7 separate regions of the Homo sapiens genome follow, and regions 1, 2, 3, 4, 5 and 7 are each linked to region 6. Evidence: promoter capture Hi-C in 16 types of primary human blood cells and fetal thymus (Javierre and others, 2016). All regions are on one chromosome and are shown on one strand. The core of a region is centred on a gene start or on the middle of the fragment in contact, and the rest is flanking DNA. Distances in the headings are between cores, read along the strand shown. Region 1 overlaps PBK (PDZ binding kinase). Region 2 has its middle 14 kb from the start of GINS4. Region 3 overlaps DPYSL2 (dihydropyrimidinase like 2). Region 4 holds the start of CCDC25 (coiled-coil domain containing 25). Region 5 holds the start of GPAT4 (glycerol-3-phosphate acyltransferase 4). Region 6 holds the start of MAK16 (MAK16 homolog). Region 7 overlaps TRIM35 (tripartite motif containing 35).

The links. The method cuts DNA at HindIII sites, captures the fragments that hold promoters and counts their contacts. A CHiCAGO score of 5 or more calls a contact.
Region 1: a fragment that was not itself captured here is called in contact with the fragment with the promoter of MAK16 in region 6 in 1 of 17 cell types (monocytes); the score reaches 5.4 in monocytes.
Region 2: a fragment that was not itself captured here is called in contact with the fragment with the promoter of MAK16 in region 6 in 1 of 17 cell types (total CD8 T cells); the score reaches 6.5 in total CD8 T cells.
Region 3: a fragment that was not itself captured here is called in contact with the fragment with the promoter of MAK16 in region 6 in 2 of 17 cell types (M0 macrophages and activated CD4 T cells); the score reaches 7.4 in M0 macrophages.
Region 4: a contact is called between the fragment with the promoter of CCDC25 here and the fragment with the promoter of MAK16 in region 6, in 7 of 17 cell types (naive CD4 T cells, total CD4 T cells, activated CD4 T cells and 4 more). The highest score is 19.9, in naive CD4 T cells.
Region 5: the fragment with the promoter of GPAT4 here is called in contact with the fragment with the promoter of MAK16 in region 6 in 1 of 17 cell types (fetal thymus); the score reaches 7.9 in fetal thymus.
Region 7: a fragment that was not itself captured here is called in contact with the fragment with the promoter of MAK16 in region 6 in 1 of 17 cell types (M0 macrophages); the score reaches 7.1 in M0 macrophages.

What each region holds. Positions count from the first base shown.
Region 1 is chr8:27,827,498-27,830,197 of GRCh38, reverse strand. PBK (PDZ binding kinase) reads left to right here. Exons shown (of 8, transcript NM_018492.4): 3 at 2,000-2,093. Among named protein-coding and RNA genes, the nearest start is that of PBK, 9.0 kb to the left of the region's middle. RefSeq lists a silencer at 2,060-2,260. The HindIII fragment of the contact is 1,242 bases long and covers 813-2,054 here.
Region 2 is chr8:41,514,233-41,516,932 of GRCh38, reverse strand. No RefSeq gene overlaps it. Among named protein-coding and RNA genes, the nearest start is that of GINS4, 14 kb to the left of the region's middle. The HindIII fragment of the contact is 2,559 bases long and covers 75-2,633 here.
Region 3 is chr8:26,580,685-26,583,384 of GRCh38, reverse strand. It overlaps DPYSL2 (dihydropyrimidinase like 2), which reads right to left. Exons shown (of 14, transcript NM_001197293.3): 2 at 1,328-1,416. Among named protein-coding and RNA genes, the nearest start is that of DPYSL2, 68 kb to the right of the region's middle. The HindIII fragment of the contact is 3,760 bases long and covers 1-2,700 here.
Region 4 is chr8:27,771,256-27,773,955 of GRCh38, reverse strand. CCDC25 (coiled-coil domain containing 25) reads left to right here and starts at 1,316. Exons shown (of 9, transcript NM_018246.3): 1 at 1,316-1,443. The coding sequence starts at 1,416. It also overlaps a transcript of ESCO2 not described here and the pseudogene RNU6-1276P. RefSeq lists an enhancer at 1,323-1,632. The HindIII fragment of the contact is 7,740 bases long and covers 1-2,700 here.
Region 5 is chr8:41,576,777-41,579,476 of GRCh38, reverse strand. GPAT4 (glycerol-3-phosphate acyltransferase 4) reads right to left here and starts at 1,277. Exons shown (of 13, transcript NM_178819.4): 1 at 1,199-1,277. GPAT4-AS1 (GPAT4 and GINS4 antisense RNA 1) reads left to right here and starts at 1,109. Exons shown (of 3, transcript NR_125824.1): 1 at 1,109-1,171. RefSeq lists silencers at 771-910, 931-1,550. The HindIII fragment of the contact is 4,489 bases long and covers 1-1,998 here.
Region 6 is chr8:33,483,911-33,486,610 of GRCh38, reverse strand. MAK16 (MAK16 homolog) reads right to left here and starts at 1,429. Exons shown (of 10, transcript NM_032509.4): 1 at 1,390-1,429. The coding sequence starts at 1,404. RefSeq lists silencers at 1,422-1,609, 1,820-2,009 and enhancers at 1,500-1,649, 1,637-2,273. The HindIII fragment of the contact is 3,746 bases long and covers 1-2,700 here.
Region 7 is chr8:27,301,024-27,303,723 of GRCh38, reverse strand. All of the region lies in intron 1 of TRIM35 (tripartite motif containing 35), which reads left to right. Among named protein-coding and RNA genes, the nearest start is that of TRIM35, 8.9 kb to the left of the region's middle. The HindIII fragment of the contact is 1,199 bases long and covers 704-1,902 here.

The DNA.
Region 1 (2,700 bases), core at 184-2,683, 5.7 Mb after region 6:
AGAATCTTGCTCTGTCACCCAGGCCGGAGTGCAATGGTGCGATCTCAGCTCACTGCAACCTCCACCTCCTGGGTTCAAGCAATTATCCTGCCTCAGCCTCCCGAGTAGTCGGGATTACAGGCACGTGCTACCACGCCCAGCTAATTTTTGTATTTTTAGTAGAGACAGGGTTTCGCCATGTTGGCCAGGCTGGTCTTGAACTCCTGGCCTCAAGTGATCCACCTGCCTCAGCCTCCCAAAGTGCTGGGATTACAGGCGTGAGCCACCACTCTTGGCCTCCTGTCATCTTATGGTATGTTTCTATTGATTGATTGATTTTTTAATTTTTTGAGATGGAGTCTTGTGCCCTGTCGCCCAGGCTGGAGTGCAATGGCGCTATCTCAGCTCACTGTAACCTCCGCCTCCTGGGTTCACGCCATTCTCCTGCCTCAGCCTCCCGAGTAGCTGGGATTACAGGCACGTGCCACCACACCTGGCTAATTTTTTGCCTCTTTAGTAGAGACGGGGTTTCACCATGTTGGCCAGGCTGGTCTCGAACTCCTGACCTAGTGATCTGCCTGCCTCGGCCTCCCAAAGTGCTGGGATTACAGGCGTGAGCCACCGCGCTAGGCCTCTATTGATTTATTTTTCTCCTATATTGGTCATATTTTCTTGCTGCTTTCATGCCTGGTACTTTTTGATTGGGCAGTAGATATTTTGCATTGTCTAGTACTGGATTTTGTTATTCCTTTAAAGAGTGTTTGATTTAGTTATGGTCTGAGGTTAAGTTACCTGCACATTAGCCTGTTCCTTTTGAGACTGGCTTTTAAGCTTTGTTTTGAATGTTTATCTGGGGCTAAACTTTAGCTGTACTATCTAGTTGTGACCCTTTAGAGGACTTTACTATGTGTTACAGGGTTACCATCCTCTAGCTCATGGTGATATGAAGTGTTCCTAGACTTGTATGATCTCTGGTAATTGTTGAGCCAATTGCTTTCCTCTGGTGCTTTCCCAGCTTTGGGGCATCTACACATTGTTATGTGCGGATAAGTACTTGGCCAAACACTCAAAGAGAAACTGTTCAGATCTTTGGAGTGCTCTCTTTGGAGCTCTCTAGTTCTCTGCTCCACAAATTCTAGCCGCCTAGTCCTTCTTGACCTCTGATCTCTGTCTCTTCAATGTGACAGGACTTCTGGATTATGTGACCTCTGTCCTGCAGTCTGGAAACTGCCTTCAAGCAGTAAGTTAGGGCAGTGATAGGGCCCACCTCATTTGTTTCTCTTCTCTCAGGCATCACAACACTGCTCTGCCTGTTGTCAAGTGTCTGAAAACAATTATATTTTGTCTAGTTTTCTAGTTAATGGCGAGATGGTAACTCTAGGAGCAGTTAATTGTCCAGGAGTAGTTAATTATTTTTCATGAGCAGAAGCAGAACTCCATCTTTTCATCTTTTTTTTTTTTTTTTTTTTTTTTTGAGACTGTGTCTTGCTCTGTCACCCAGGCTGAACACAGCTCACTGCACCTGCACCCTTAACCTCCTGGGCTCAAGTGTTTCTCCCAAGTAGCTGAGACCACAGGTGTGTGCCATCATTCCTGGCTAATTAAAAAAATTTTTTCGTGTGTAGAGATGGAGTCTCTTTATGTTGCCCAAGCTGGTCTCTACTGGGCTCAAGTGACCCTCCTGCCCCGGACTCCAAAAGCGTTGAGATTATAGGCATGAGCCACCACATCCAACCCCTTTATCTTTTAACAATGTTTTAAAAATGTGAAAACAGTTCTTAGCTTGTAGGCCATACAAAAACAGGCCATTTCCCAATCTCTGCTTCAGAGTTACTGTAGGATAAAACTCCAAAAGTAGGCTTGGTCAAAAGATACCCATTTAAAATTAGGATATATGTTGTCAAATTGCTCTCCAAAAAGACTGTGCCAATTAATACTCTTGGCAGTAGTATATTGAGAATGTTAAGATGCTTTATTTTTATTTTTTATTAATTTTATTTTTTATTTCTCTGACATTTAGTATTATGTTCAACTCCAACTATAAATATCCCGGCCTCTCCGTTTATGCAGAAGCTTGGCTTTGGTACTGGGGTAAATGTGTACCTAATGAAAAGGTAAGTATAAGATTTCAGATTAACCTTTTTTCATGCAACTATAATTCTACTGTACTTGGAGACAAAGAAGTAGTCTGAAAATTCCAGTATTTAGATTCGGTTGTCTGCTCCTGATCCTGGCTGATGGCTGTATTCCGGTCCCTAGACCCTTTTGTAACTTTGCCTGTAGCTCTGCCTCTGCTTTTCTCCTAGCTTCCTCCTGATGGGTTATTAAAGGGGAAGTCATTTACTTTTTAATTTTTCCTTGGCTTCCATAAGAAGGGGAAGTGGCAGGGGAAAGGGTTCCTTTGTGGTAATTAAACCAGATTCTTCATGAGAAAACCTCAAAGAGGAAGCCAGTATTGGGTGATGTCAGTGACTGCTGTCTTTTCTGCAGCGTTGCCCTCCTAAGATATGCTCTTCTAAAAGAAGTAAAAGATTTTCATTTCTTATGGCATTGTTATTAAGAAGGGTAAATACATGATTTTAAAGTAGGAATATTGTGTTAAGAAAAATGAAATAATCGAACAAGTATGGTGCCAATATAGCTGTCAACAAAGTGTTTTTTTAAATTACTTTTTTATTATTCATATATTTTTTTGAAACAGAGTCTCACTCTGTTGACCAG
Region 2 (2,700 bases), core at 105-2,604, 8.0 Mb before region 6:
ACCTTGTGATCCACCCGCCTCGGCCTCCCAAAGTGCTGGGATTACAGGCATGAGCCACCGTGCCCGGCCAAGCTTATCTGTTAAACGAAATGATCAGATTGAATTTTACCCTCTGAGCCTAAATGCTGGCTTTGGTCTCAGAGGCATTTTTACTTGCTGTCTTAACTGCTGCATGGAGTTAATATACAGCTGTGTATTACTCTGGCAGCACACATTTCCTTTATGGAAAACTTGTGGTCACTTCAAAATCTACACAGTACTTGGGAATAGAAAACAACTATTCCCTTTCTATTCCTAGGGAATAGAAAACAACTTGTCACAAGCAAATTTCCTCAGGGAGCCCCTATCAGGGATCTGATAATTTTACATTTATAGCTCTTGCTGGCAGGGGCTGGTGAAGTTTCTGTATTCAAGATGGCTGCTGTGGGGTTTCTGGTTACTTAAAAGGTGATTTTTCCTATCCTGAAATAGTCCCTCCATGTCATTAAATATTAAGGGAAGATCTTTTCTGCAATATTAAAAATCCCCCAAAACATGCTGTTTGGCCTTTCCTAATTGTGTGTGTGTGTGTTGTTGTTGTTGTTGTTTTTGAGACAGGATCTCATTCTGTCACCCAGGCTGGAGTGCAGTGGCATGATCTCAGCTCACTGCAGCCTCGACCTCTCAGGCTTAAGTGATCCTCCCACCTCAGCCCTGCAAGTAGCTGGGACCACAGGCGTGGGCCACCATGCCCAACTAATTTTTGTGTTTTTTTGTAGAGACAAGGTTTTGCTGTTGCCCAGGCTGGTCTCAACTTCTGGGCTCAAGTAATCTGCCCACCTTGGCCCCTCAAAGTGCTGGGATGATAGGTGTGAGCCCAGCCCCTACTTTTTTTTTGTTTTTGTTTTTGTTTTGAGATGGAGTCTTGCTCTGTTGCCTAGGCTGGAGTGCAGTGGCGTGATCTTGGCTCACTGCAGCCTCCGCCTCCCGGGTTCAAGTGATTCTCCTGCCTCAGCCTCCCGGGTAGCTGGGATTACAGGTGCTTGCCAACACACCCAGCTAATTTTTGTATTTTCAGTAGAGATGGGGTTTCACTATGTTGGCCAGGCTGGCCTCGAACTACTGACCTCAAATGATCCACCCACTTCGGCCTCGCAAAGTGTTGGGATTACAGGTGTGAGCCACCGTACCTGGCCTGGCCCCTAATTGTTAACTGAAGCACTCTTCATTTTAAAATTAGAAACGAGAATCACAGATGTTGATTTTCAAGCGCATAATTCTTCAAATATCTAAGAAAGTAGAAACTGGACTAAGTAAAACATTTGTAGATTTTATGAGATAAACAAAGATGTGCAAGTTGTGCACATGAATCCTTTTGTTGGGAGGAAAAGATCACATCTATGTTTCTCAGCCCTTGCACATCCCAGAATCTGAGCTAGCTATGTTGTTTGACACTCGGCTGCTCCGTGAAGAGTAATTAACAAAACATTTTGAATACAAGTTATTATCATTTCCTGGCAATAAACAGGTCTGTTAAAACATGAGGTAAGAGGATATATACATGAACAGAAACAGAAAGATCAAGAACAACAGATATGGCAGCTAATAGGTGGATTTTTAGGTCTCCTGCTTTTTTTTTTTAAAGAACTCTTTGTAGGTGAAACGAAATATTTCTTCAAAGATAGTTTATAAATCTGAAGATTAAAGATTTCACTAGCAAAGTAAAATGTGACAGCACAAAGTTAGATAAGTTACTAAGTCAATAAATCCTTTTATTGCTCAGATACTATTTTTTTAAAAACCCACAACATCCTGCTAGCATAAACTTGTTTTCACTTGACAATAACCCTTAACCAAAGATCTTTGGTAGTGCCTAACTCATAAAAACTTTTTTTTTTTTTTTTTTTTTTTTTGCAAAATGGAGGCTTAAAAATGTAAAGAGTAGGCGTTAAGTTCCCATAGGGCTTCCTGGTTGTAGGCAGAATTTCACAGAACTTCGTATCTGCAGCATTTGAGGTACATATATGGGAAGAACTTAGGATATAATTCAGAAGAGCCAAGATCTTTATTTTGGTTCTGTAATTCTGTGCCTACTCATTTTGGAGCAAAATACATGTATTGCTGTACCCCTAACAATCCTAGCACGTAGGTGGTCCACAATCCCCATTTTGACATTCCCAACAATCCACAGCAAATGGGATGTTAATCAGATGTTTGCCGTTCTCTACACATTTCCAAGTTTTGAGTACAGTACTGGAGAGTACCATCATAAAGCCATTTATTCCAGCTCTTGGGGGTGGGGTAGAATAAAATCATTCACACTGACACCCTTGCACATTAAAGCTGGTCACTGTGTAATGGTTACAGTCATCGATGTTTATCCTTCCAGCAAGCACACATGAGGACAGGGATGACTCTGGCCTGTTTCAGTTAGTGTTTGCACTACAGAGTAGTCTCTGGTGATGTTAGACTACAAGCGTGCTTGATTCATTTTATCTAATGAGTGACAAGCACCTTTTTTCATATTGTTCTTGTAACTTTGATTTTACATAGAGAAATTCAGTAGCAAGAACTCAAATGAGTACAAAGTATTGTTTGTGCTTTATTAGGTCCTTAGAGAATTTTGAAAAGTGGAAATTATCTGAAAATAAGCTTTTATCAGAAGACTAAGTTAAAAGAATTAAGGAGAAATAGACTTCTAAGTTTTGCAGTTTCAATCAT
Region 3 (2,700 bases), core at 26-2,525, 6.9 Mb after region 6:
GAAAATAGGGGTGGAAGGGTGAGGTAGAACAAATCAAAGCAAAAAAAAAAAAAAAGTGAACACTATGATTGCAATGATTTAAAATTTTGGAAGCGTGTGTTTAGTTATTCAGATAATGAAAAAGCTAACAGCTGAAATATAATTTTAAAAGGCAGAAAAATGAATATTCATTATGTTGGGAGACATGATTCATTTCCAACTTTTAAAAAATATTTTTATATCTTTCTACCAATTTTTTAAAAGGAATATTAATCTAGGAGAAGTTGATAAAGTTCTAGAACAAATCAGTGATGAGTAAAAACAGCACACAGGCCTGCACACTTCTGGGCCAGTGTCATTCTACCAGACCAGATCGTGCCATCTTATAATTGGGGGAAAATGGAACATCAAAGTCATGGCATTTGAGAGCCTGGAGCTGAGACTGTCACAGCAAACACACATGGAGAAAACATTAAACGTGGAAATGTTAAAATCTATTTTAGGTTCATAAATCTGGGTGTGAGCTCCCAGGCAACAGTCACAGCCACTCCAGTTTTCCACTCCTCTGGACCGGTTTACAGCTATCCCTTGATGAATGCTGCTTATTTAAAAGCTGTCACTGGCTGCAGTGTTTGTCTTCAAACAGATGTGCTATTTCTCCAGAGCCCCGGGAGCTACCCCAGTAGAAAGGGCAGGCAGATACTGGGATGAACTCAGCTTCCTTAACCCTCTGGCGTCCAAAAATACCCAAACTCAGGAACTGCCCTGTTGCTTCTCCTTTGTAACATTAACACAATAAACACAAGGGCAGTCTTATTTGCACTAGTTGCCACTTAGAATAAAACCTAAAATTCCCTCAGGATTTAGGCAGTAATTTGTCTGTATTACTTAGTAATTAACTTGGTATCTTTCTTTGGCCCCTCCAACTTGGATTCTTGATGAAGAAAGCAGATGTGCTGTCTCAATAGAGGAGACTGTCTTTCACGTTTGCGTCCTTTGGGCAATCCAACCCAAACAATGACATTCTAGGCAAAACTTTAATATATTCAACATATCACAAACCAAGTATTTGAGCTGGCAACAGAAAGATATCATATCACCTCAGTTAAAAATAGTAAATTACATAATACCTAATGCAACGGGTGTACATTAATTGTTGCTTTGAATTCCCTAAATTTGAGTTTTCAAATTCACTAATTACCACCAATCAAAACCAGTTTAAAACAGATACTAAGTTGGTCACTCTCTGATGTTCCTGAAGTTTGATACTTTGGATGCGAATGGTATCTAATACTTGGGAAGTCTGGAAAGTGTTCAAATACATCTGTATATCATGAGTTACACTTACTTGATCAACCCATCTTCCATGTATATGTCTGCATAGAACGACTGGTCATCATTAACAATTTTACCTCCTTTGATCAGAAGACGATCGCTCTGAAACAAAGAGGCAGTAAGGTCACAACGCGTAACTGACCTATGAGAAACAGGTGCTAAGATATGTGAGCTAAGGATACATTTTCACTGTTCAAAAGTGATGTTCAAAATAAGCCCATTTTGGAAAGGTTCAGTGACAAAGGTAAGCCTGTATGTGGCAACCTATTCATCACCTGATGAGTCAGAACACACAGGGACAGCTTATCCTAGATAAACGAACCATCTCTTTCAATTAGACCTTGGACTCCAAAGAAAAAAAAAAAGCAGTGAAAATTATTTCATATAAAGAAGATAGGGCCGGGCACGGTGGCTCATGCCTGTAATCCCAGCACTTTGGGAGGCCAAGATGGGCGGATCACCTGAGGTCAGGAGTTTGAGACCAGCCTGGCCAACATGGTGAAACCCCATCTCTATAAAAAATACAAAAAATGGGCTGGGCATGGTGGTGGGCGCCTGTAATCCCAGCTACTCGGGAGGCTGAGGCAGGAGAATTGCTTGAAGCAGCAGGCGGAGGTTGTAGTGAACCGAGATCACGTCACTGCACCCCAGCCTGGGTTACACAGCAAGACTCCAACTCAAAAAAAAAAAAAGAAGATAGTACTTTTTAAAATGGCTTTTGGCTAAACCTCAATTTAAAAACAAACAAACAACAACAAAAAAAACCACCTACATATAGGAAAGCCATGTCTTGGAAAGACTGTGTCAAGCAAGCACAATTGACCAAAAAGTCTGCTGTCACGGGATATACCACACAAATACACTGGGTTCAACCATAGCAAGGTTTCCATTCAATATGTCCTTTATATTTGCATTTATCTTTGAGGTAAATCACAGCAAGTATAGCAAAAAGACTACAAAAAATACGCCATTGATGCCATTTTAACTAGGCTGTTAAGAAAAAGGTAAACTCCCACGAATAAGTATCTGAGATAGCAAATTCTAAGATGCAATGCACTACAGATTGCTGATGCACTTATATTTTAACCGGTGATATTTATGCTAAAAAATAAAGGACAAGCAGCAGATAAAGTCTGAGAATGTGACAGAAATGCTACATTATGACTCATCGTTATTGCAAATGCTGCTGATGGAAGGAATGCTGGCATCGAGTGTTCAGTAAATATGCACCTGTATTATACAGAATGGGCTTAAACCTGGCAAGCTGAACCATACATTGCCCTTTTAATATGCAACACATTTCAAAGAATGACATTCTTTTGGCAATAGTTAACTCAAAATTCAGTTACAAAACAATATTCTCAGCAAGTGCTACCTCTCTTTAGC
Region 4 (2,700 bases), core at 67-2,566, 5.7 Mb after region 6:
CCATTCCCATTTTACAAATAATACAACGGAGAACCCAAAACAATTGCTATTTACAGAACAGAGCTAAATTCTTACTTTGGAAAACCAGAAAGTTCCTAAAACGGTTATTGTTAGCTATTGTTACTATCTTTGTGTCACCAGCTCCTGGTACAGTGTTTCTGGCACATTTTTAGTTTCAAATAAGTTTAGAGTTTTATGTTTATTTTTTCAAATTTAATTTTCACAAATTTGTATGTCATCCTTGAGCAGGGGCCATGTTAAAGTTCTCTGTATCATTCCAATTTTAGTATACATGCTGTCAAAGCAAGCATGTAAATAAATTTCGTTAAGTGACGCCCTCAATTTCATAGAATGAAGTCAGTGACAGTGATGTAAGAGTGTCAGTTTAAAAGGAAAAGGCTGAGGCAAAAAAAAAAAGAATGTAGAGTTTGCTTGAGTTAAAGCGGGGACAGCTGCCCAGAAGATTCCAACCCCCCTCCCCCCACCGCCCTCCACCAGCAGGCTTGGATATGAGCTCTGTCTGGCCTTTGCTACAAGCAGGTTTTTAAAGACGAAGAAGGGGGGCAGGAAGTGGGCTGATACACAACTGTCAAGCATTCTCATTGATGTATAGAAACTACAAGCATCAGTGATTGGCTAGACATTGTTAAACTATAGGGTGTGGGTCATGTCATAGTGTCTTGTGTGGCAGTGTTAGGTTAGTAGGTAGCTACCTGTGGCAGAAGCAGGTAGTTTCAGTAGATGAATACATAGCTCAAGGGGGTGGTAGAACATGATGGGGTCTTATCTTAATGCCTCTCCAGACCTAGTAATTTAAAGGGACTCACATTCCTCAGATAAAAGTGCTTTCTCAAGAGAAATAATCAGGGCAAAGCCAAGTGCTGTAGGAGCTTTACATGAATATGATTATTCCTACTTTATAGCAGGAGGACCTCTGAGGTTCAGAGGTTTGGGATGGCAGGCCTTCGATTTAAGCCAGAACAAAGTCCAATCCCCAAGAGGCATATTGTCCTGGTGAGTATCAGAAACAACTCGTTTGTGTGCTATGTTCTAAACCCTTGGCGCCCATTAACTTATTTAACCCTAAAAAATATCCTGTGAGTTAGCTGCTCTAGTATCATCTTCATTTCGCTGCTGAGGAAAGTGAAGCACAGACAGGTTAACTAACGTGCCCAAGATGCCCAGCCTCTTTCCCTTAACCCACAAATCACTGAACCAAACTCCTTGCCACTACACTTCGCCTCGCCAGGATTAAAAATGGCGCCCACGGCCGGCGTTATGACGCGCCCCGACGTCCGCCGGAAGTGCACGGAGGAGTTCCGGGGGCCAGGCGGCCGCCGCGAGTCTGGTATCCTGAGCTTCGTGAGTTGAGCGCTGCTGCTCCGCGGTGGAGTCACCGCACCGCTCCCGGGATCATGGTGTTCTACTTCACCAGCAGCAGCGGTGAGTGGGCGCCACGTCCTCCTGGACCCTGCTGGACAGCGGGCTCCGAAGCCGGGACCCGCAGTCCGCCGCTGCGCCTGACCCTCGCTCTAAAATGCCTTCTGGATGCGAGTGCCTCTTCCCGCGGCCTCTCGGTCCCCCAGCACATCCGTCCCTCCCACGGCTGCAGGATTTCCCCCGGCGTCCCCTCGTCATGGCGTGGGGGGCGCGGAGGGGCGATGCCACTGCTATGTTTGTATCGGGGAGTTCTCGTCCCCTAATCGGAAAGACGTCCCGTCACTCCCTGGGATTGGGCAGAGCCTGTGGGCTCCTCCACACACCTTATCCCAAGTCTTCTTCCCACCTTCCATCTGCGGCCTTTGTTCTGGCTGAACCCTTGTAATTATCCCCTGTGAGAAAGGAGACACCTGCTAACAACTTTTTCTTAAGGGAAGCGCGACTTACCCTTTCAGGAAGGGGTTGTAGGGTCTGGGATGCAACAGAAAACAATAAAAAGACCCTGGGATGTCCACCCAGCCACTCTCCGGGCAGTTGATGTCCCAGATCTCAGAAGTGACCTATGGTAATGCTTCTGACTTATCTTTGACAGATAAGGAAAGGGTGCCCTTCGTTCCCAGGAAATGCAGTGTCCCGACTTGGTTTCGTTCTGTTCCTGTTATTCCCCTTTCCTAAAATCAACCCCCAGCTAATTCCCTTAAGACAGTTTTGGCCCATCTTTTCCAAGATGCCTTTCCTGATGCTAGCTCCTACCCCAAGATTGCTTAGCTATTCCTTTCCTGGGACCCACTTAACGTTCCAAGTATGCCTTTGGCATTGCACTTATCACGTGGTATTAAATGGTGTCTGCTTGAGCTAGAGTGTAAGTCCCTTGAGGGCGTGGACAGGATCTCTTTACAGTAGTCCCTACTTGTCCTGTATTTCGCTTTCCGTGGTCACATCATCACAAGAAGAAAAGGAGTGAGTACAGTACAATAAGGTTTTGAGAGAGAGAGAGAGCAGAGTCACCTAACTTTTATTACAGTACGTTGTTATAATCGTTCTATTTTATTATTAGTTATTGTCAATAATCTCTTACTCCACCGAACTGATACATTAACTTTATCATAGGTATACATATATAGGGAATACCAGTAGCCATGCGTCCCTTAATGACAAGAATACATTCTGAGAAATGCTCCATTAGGCGGTTTCATTGTTGTAGCAACACGGTAGAGTATACTTAAACCTGTGGTATAGCCTACCACAAATGTAGGCTGT
Region 5 (2,700 bases), core at 28-2,527, 8.1 Mb before region 6:
GCTGAAGACCTCATGAGTAGGCTGTGTTCCAAAACAAAAAGCACCTTATGACTTGGTATGGTGGTTTTCATTATGGAACTGAAGCTACTTTTGACAGACTCATCTTGCATCAAGTTCTCCCTGAGACATACGGGAGGGGAAATGGGTGGGGTGTGTATGGCACAGGAATAGCCACAGTTAAGTGGCTGAGGAGGCCAGAACAAGTACATGCTGGTTCCCTATTCCATCTATTTCCCTGTGTCTGAAATTCTCCAAAATACAAAGTTAAAAAAGAAAAGAAAAGCACATCTCTTTCAAAGAGAGAAGTATATTTGATTGGCATTATTACAGGATTTTGTCTGGAGACTTTGGTATGGTATAACTGCTCTTCACACCATTTCCCTTGGATTGAGATAGAATCTACAAGACATGAAACTAAGGAGAGCTCCTCAAAGTTCAGCCAAAATTAAGGAAAATGAACCAAAAACAAAATTCCTCAAATGACCTCAAGGTTATCCATGAGAAGATCCATGGTAATACTTGGCAGAGGATGGAACTTATTTCCATCGTGCTACACCGTATGTCTCCTATAAGCTATTTTCTGCAACTTCTGAACAGCTAAACTTCAGCCCTCTGTGACATGGAAAGCGAGGAAATAAACAAGCCCCACTGGGAGAAGGATGCCTCAGAGGGTGCTGAAATAAAAAAGGAAAGGCAAGGGATTTCAGGAGTTAAGAAATCCTAAAGAAAAATGGGAGCATGCATTTGGAGAAGGAGAGGGTAAAGACATGCATCTTACGGCAGCCAGAGAACACAGGAAGGGGAATGACAGGGGAAGGCGCTTCCTGGTGCTCCAACGCCCAGCAGCCCTCGCCACCCACATCCCCGGACTCCCGGGGCGGGAGGGCTGCGCACACCTGGGACTTGGGGGAGGCGAGGGGCTCCGAGGAGCCGGGCTCGGAGAGCAGGCGAGCGGAGAGGCGGGCGGCCGGGGTTCGGGGCGGGCGCGGACCGTTCCATCCCGGACGGGGGGCACCCGCTCCACCCGCCGGGGATCCCCGGGGCGCGGCGATGGTGCCTCCTGACGCCGGCGCAGCGTCGCCGGGGCGTCCCAGACCGCAGGCCCCGCGCGGCCGCCCAAGCCCGGCTCCCACGTCCCGCTCTCGGCTCCCCGGAGGTCGGAGACTTTGAGGTAAGGGGCCAGCTCCCTCCTACTCACCGACCGCGAGGCTAGGCAGCTCCAAATCCCGCGGCGACCGCTCCCTCCCGCCCTTGCCGCCGCCGCGGGCCCAAGCTGCGTCAGGACGTGCGCGCGCCCGCCTTTGTCTGCGCCGCCCAACGTGACCCTGCGCCCACCGCCCCGCACGCTCCCGTCGGGCGCGCGCGGGCCGGCAGGGCGGGGGCCTAGGGAGAGGCGGGTGCCGCGTGGACCGGTCGCGGGTTGGGCGACCCGCGGAGTCGCCCTCTGGCGGACTAGGGGGCACTGCCGGGGGCGGGGCGGGGCAGGAGCAGGAGAGGCCGGGCCCTGGCTGTCCCTCCGCTGGCGCGTCCCTCTCAGAAAGCGGAGCGCTTCCCTGCGTTAGGACCCGATACTGGCTCCCTCCCCGGAGGTTCGCTTGTGTGTTCCGGAGAGGGTGAAATCAGGCTGGCACCGCGGGAAGAGGCTAGAGTCACTAAATCACCTTGTCCTCTTGAGGCTGCTGTCCGTATGCAGCGACATTCTGCCCGTTAGAGGACTCAGCTCAGGGCCTGGTACGCTCAAGATCTGTTAGCTACCAGCACCATCACCACGACCACCGTCATCACCAGCAGTATCCCTCAGCCTCGTCTACCTTGCTCGTCAAGCAGGGTGCTCCAGGAGTGGGTGTAGGCCACTTTCGCCCTGCCTGGCAGATGCAACTTTCCAACTTCCACCTCCACTTGGACCTGCTCTCTCTACTCAAGTCTAGCTGGTGGCTGCTGGAGTTTGCGTGTGTGTTTCTTACTATATCTTCTGACTTCGGACGCCTAACCCAAGCTTATTATCTCCCCTAAAATGGGACCTCCTTAAAATATATATTACCTTTCTTTTTCCTGTTCTTAAAAGACAGTTTGCCTTTAGTGCCAAGCCCTCTCCGCCGGTTTACGCTGTACACGGCTGTCAGATTGTCATTCCGTGCTAAATGCATAATCTGATAATGAAATCTTTAAAGTCCACATTCTTAGACCTCAAAATCTCTGTAAGAATAAAGGGCAGAGTATGGTAGTTCACGCCAGTAATCCCAGCGTTTTGGGAGGCCAAAGCAGGAGGATCGCTTGAGGCCAGGAGTTTGAGACTAGCCGGGGCAACGTAACGAGACCCCCACTTCTACAAAAATTTTGAAAATTAAAAAAAAATGGTGGGGGGAGCGGGGCGCGGGTAGCTCACGCCTGTAATCCCAGCACTTTGGGAGGCAGAGGCGGACAGATCACTTAAGGCCAGGAGTTTGAGACCAGCCTGGCCAACATGGTGAAACCCCGTCTCTACTAAAAATACAAAATTTAGCCGGGGGTGATGGCACGCACCTGTAATCCCAGCTACTCGGGAGGCTGAGACAGGAGAATTGCATGAACCCAGGAGGCAGATGTTGCAGTGAACTGAGATTGTGGCACTATACTCCAGCCTGTGTGACAGAGCGAGACCCAAACTCAAAAAAAAAAAAAAAAAAAAGAATAACCACTTAGCTCCAAAACACTGGACTA
Region 6 (2,700 bases), core at 180-2,679:
ACCATTAAATTACTACCTTAGGCGAAGCCACTTTCGTTTTTAAAAAAATTTATTTACTTTAGAGATAGGGTCTCTCTGTCACCCAGGCTGGAGTGCAGTGGTGCCATCATAGCTCACTGCAGCCTCGGACTTTTCGGCTCAAGTAGTCCTTCTGCCTCAGCCTTCGAAGTAACTGGGACCTCAGGCGAACACCACCGCGCCCAGCTAATTTTTTATTTTTTGTAGAGATGGAGTCTCACTTTATTGCCTAGGCTGGAATCGAACTCCTGGCCTCAAGCGATCCTCCAGCCCCAGCCTCCCAAAGCGTTGGGATTACAGGCATGAGCCACTGTGTCTGGCTTGAAGCAACCTTTGTCATACCCTAGTCTCCTTGCTTTCATTTTTTCCCTCCAAAAGTCCTTCACACAGCAACTAGACAACTTTTCACAAACATAGATCATTAAAAGGCCTAAAAAACACTTCCTACAAGATTCTGCATGACCTCGCCCTGGCAAGCATATCTAATTTCATTACCTGTCTTACATTGTCACTTTGATGACCCTTATATTCATTCTCTCATATCTTCAACTCTTTGTACTTTACTGTTCCTACTGCCTGGATTGCTTTTTCCTCAGCTCCTCAGTGACTGGCTTATTCTTATCTTTTAGATCTCAACTCAAACATCTTCTGTTCAGAGAAACCTTCCCTGAGTAACCCTATCTGAAGTGTCCTTCATCATCTCTGGTCTTTCTTTCATAGTATGATTATATAGTGTAATTGTTAACTTATTTGTTCACTTGTTTACTGTGTCTCCCCCATCAGTGTTCCAGGAGAGGTGGGACATTTTTTCTGGTTAACCAAATCCTCAATAATTACCACAATGCCTGGCACACTGTAAGCACACTGTTATTTCTCCAACAAAAAACTCAATGAATGAATCTAGGATACTTCCGAAATTATGACTTAGGCAGAAGTAGAGCAAATGTAAAGAAAAGCCTACACAGGAAACGCAGATGGAAGAGTAACGCGCACATGGATGAGAAGGACGCTTAAACTTGGAGTCAGCTTCGCCAAATCCCGGGCCGCCCCCCACCCCAAGTCCGGAGCTGACAGCTGACAGCTGACAGCATGACGCGACGTCCTGCATTGGTAGGCACGAAGGACGGGACACATCGACCCCATGGGCTGAGGTGACGGAGTCCTGTGCTCACAACCCGGCCGGGGCAGCGGGCAGTAAACCCCTGCTAGACACGCGTGAGAACCTATGTTGGAAAATCGGGGTTCCGGAAGCCTCACATCCAGAGCGGCACGAGGCAACAGACCCGCTGCGTACGCGTTTTCTAAGTGTCCGAAAATGGGCAAAATTCCCTGCGCAAACCCCGGGTGTAAGAACAACCGGAGGAGACTCACATCATCCGACTGCATGGTGTCCGCGGCTCAGCGTGCAACTTCCGGTCGGATCGCGGGCGCAGACATGCTCCTTCCGGGAAACCAGTTCCGGAACGCGCAGCCTCACCTATCTCGAGAAACGCTGAGACTCTCGGTGTTGCGAAGCGTCCCCTGGCAGTCTCGTCGCCGCGCGCGCGCCCCCGCGTCTTCACCACGCTGGCGTCTGCGCGCGCCCGTCCGCAATGCTGGGCTTGTTCATGGGCGCAGCCTGGAGCTGGGAACCCTGTTGGGACCCAGTGCGATCCGCGGGAGGCAGGACGCGCGCAGTCTGCCGAATCCTGGAGCGCGGGGACCGCGGGGGTCGGGCGTGCTTCCCTAGCGCCCTGTTTGTGACCGTTCATGAGGATGGGACCCCTCCCTGTCGGGCCTCCCCTCTGCTGGGAGGAGGCTGGGGAAAGCTGCAGGCGGCGCGGCGGGGCTGGGTCCCCGCTCCTCCGAGTCCCCCGGCCCCAGCTCGCAGCCAGGCCCCGGCCCTGCCCCTCAGACCCTGACTTAGCCACTCCCCACGCCCACGTTGGGTGCGGCACCGGGTCCTGACTTTAGAAACTCAGAACTTGAATTCCTCCTGCTTTGAGAAACCACTGACCAAATGGAAAGAGCATTCCAATAATAATAAACACCTGTGTCTTCCTCATTGCCTATTTGAGACAACAAACAAAGTTGATAAGGGAGGGAAAATACCAAGAAGAAAAGTAGAGGTCTAATAACCCACAAAAACAAATCTGGAAGCCTAACAGCTCTTTTCCGCCAGGGGAAAAAGAAAATCTTTACTAGTTTGTATCGTATTATAGAAGAAAGACTGTCGGCCGGGCCGGGCGCGGTGGCTCTCGCCTGTACCTCAGCACTTTGGGCGGCCTAGGCGGGCGAGTTCCAGACCAGCCTGGCCAACATAGTGAAATCCCGTCTCTACTAAAAATACAAAAATTAGTCGGGCGTGGTAGCAGGTGCCTGTAATCCCAGCTACTTGGGAGGCTGAGGCAGGAGAATCGCTTGAACCCGGGAGGCGGAGGTTGCAGTGAGCCGAGATCATGCTGTGGCCCTCCAGCCTGGGTGACAACCAAAACTACCTCTCAAAAAAAAAAAAAGAAAAAGAAAAAAGAAAAGGAAAGAAAGACTGTCAAGAGGCATTTGAACCAGAGCAACCCCATCTTGAATAGTGGCTGGGTAAAATAAGGCTGAGATCTGCTAGGCTGCATTCCCGAGGGTCAGGCCATCTAAATCACAGGATGAGGTCAGCACAAAATACAGGTCATAAGGATGTTGCTGATAAAA
Region 7 (2,700 bases), core at 54-2,553, 6.2 Mb after region 6:
GAGACTCTATCTCAAAAAAGTAAAAAATATAAAATAAATAAATAAAAAATCTTAATGTTATAATGTGATGCTAACATCGAAGCTTGTTTGCTCTCCTGAGCTTGGGCTGGGGGATGCTCCAGATCTGTTGTGGGCCCCTGCTACTGCCCATCTCTGCTCATTCATGTGCTCCTTGGGCTACAGGCAGGCCCCTTGAGTGGTAGTTCTATTTGTAATCTAAGCATATTTAGGGTTAAAATTAATACCAAAAGCAAACAAAATAATATTGTTTAGATGCATTCAAATTCACACTTCTTACATGTCATATTTCCTAGGTGAACCACTAGATGCACAGAAGGGGAAAATGGAATAAAAAATGTGTAGTAAATTTTAAAAAAGGAAAGGAAGAAAAAGAAAAATAGAATAAGCAAGACAAATAGCTCAGAACAAGGTGGCAGATTTAAATGCAAACATATCGGTAATTATGTGTTAAATACTCCAGTTAAATGAAAATGTTGATCTGACTGGATAAGAAAACGAAACCTAATTCTGTGTTGCTTAATATAATTATCTCAGTGAGAAAACATTTGATAAAATTTACCATCTTTTTGTGTTTAAAAAAACAGGAAACTAGAAATGGAAGGAATTTCATTAGTTTGATTAAGTATATCTAGCAAAAAAACTTACAGCAAATATCACATTTAATGGCAAAACATTGAAAGCTTTCTTATTGAGATCAAGAAAAAGACAGGAATGCGCATTATGACCAACTCTATTCAGTTTTGTGTGGGATAGCCTTGTCAATGAAGTAAGCCAATAATTATAAATAAAAGATGTAAGGTTTGGAAAGAAGGGAAGCAAAACTGGCATGTGTAGATAATATGGTTGCATATTTTTGCACTGAGATTTCTATGTGTAGAAAATAAAGATTCTACAGTTAAATCATAAGTATTAATAAGTTTAGGTGAATGCTGAATCCAAAATCAAGATGCAAAACCAGTTGTATTTCTATGTATCACTAGCAAATAGAAAATAAAATATAGGCAGGGAGTTTTACACCTGTAATCCCAGCACTTTGGGAGGCTGAGGCAGGAGGATCGTTTGAGCCAAGGAGTTTCAGACCAGCTTGCACAACATAGTCCAGCCTGTCTCTACAAAAAGTTAAAACAAATTAGCCAGGTGTGGTGGTGCATGCTTGTAGTCCCAGCTACTTGGGAGGCTGAGGTGGTGGGAGGATCACTTGAGCACAGGAGGCTGCAGTGAGCTATGATTGTGCTACTACTGCACTGCAGCCTGGGTGACAGAGGGGGACCCTGTTTTGGGTTTTTTTAATTTAAAAATATGTTTACAATAATATAAAAAATAAGATAACTAGGAAGAAATTAATAAAAGATACGCAAAACTCTGATAGGGAAAAATATACTTCGTTGAGAGCTATCAAAGAACATTAAGTAACTGGTGTGATATATTATGTTCGTGGATTAGTAAAGTCAGTATTTAAGCCTTTCAGTTTTCCCCAAATTGATCTATAGAGACAATATTGTACTAATCTAAATCTCAACATGATTATTTTTATGCAACTTCACAGATTCTAAAATTTATATGACCCTCAAAGGGCCAAAAATTGCCAAGACATTCTTGAAGAGAAACCTATCAGAAATCCTCTCTTTTTTACAGCTATAGAAATTATGGCTGTGTGATGTTGGCACAAGGATAAACAGATGGGCCAGAGAAACAGATGGAGAGAACCAAAAAACAGATCTGTGTCTGATTTAAGACAGAGGTGGCTCTGCAGACCAGTGGGCAGTAATGGTCTTTTTAAATAATGGTGCTGAGACAATGAGCTACCTGGTCACACCATGTGCAAAAATAAACTCCAGGTATCCACATCAGACCTAAATGTGAAAGGAAAGCTATAAAGCTTTGAGAAAATACTACAGAGCTATACAATAATAATGCAAAGCTATAAAGCTTTGAGGAAATAATACGATTGTTTTTGTGATCTCAGTGTAGGGAGGTGTTTCTTAAAACTAGTATACTAATCCTAAAGGAAAAGACTAATAAATTTGGCCATATTTCAATTAAGAAAGATAAATGATGAAGTAGAAAATATTCATTACACCTCTAACTAATCAAGGACATACATTGTGTATATATAATAAATTCCCACAAACCAGTTAGGAAAATGGCAGGCAACGCAATGGAAAAATGGACAATACTTTACTGAGTACTTAAAAATAAACATTGAAGTGGTCAATAAACATTTTCTATTAACATTGCTCTTGCTGTAAAAATTGGTACCACTGCTTTGGAAAACAATTTGGCATTACGCAGTAAAGTGAAGACACATATGGTGGCCCAGCAGTTTTATCCCCAGGAATATATTATGAAGAAACGAGTTCCCATGTGTCCCCAGGAGACATGTACAAGAAGGTTACCTCCTCTGGGTCTAACTTGATCCTCTGTATAATGGGACTCACAGTGCTTAACCTTATAGGGAGAATTCGAATTAAATAATTGAATTAAATAGAATGTTTGTAAAGTGCATAATTTAGTGCCTTGTGTCTAGTACATGCTTAATAGTAACTGCTTGCTAGCAATAGTAATATAATTGTTGGTTAGTCTCATCAGCTGACATCTCAGAGAAGGGCCATTTTAGGATTGGTCTTTTCTGAAGGAAACCAGAACTCTCCAAGTGATTGAAAAGTTTGAGAAGATCAA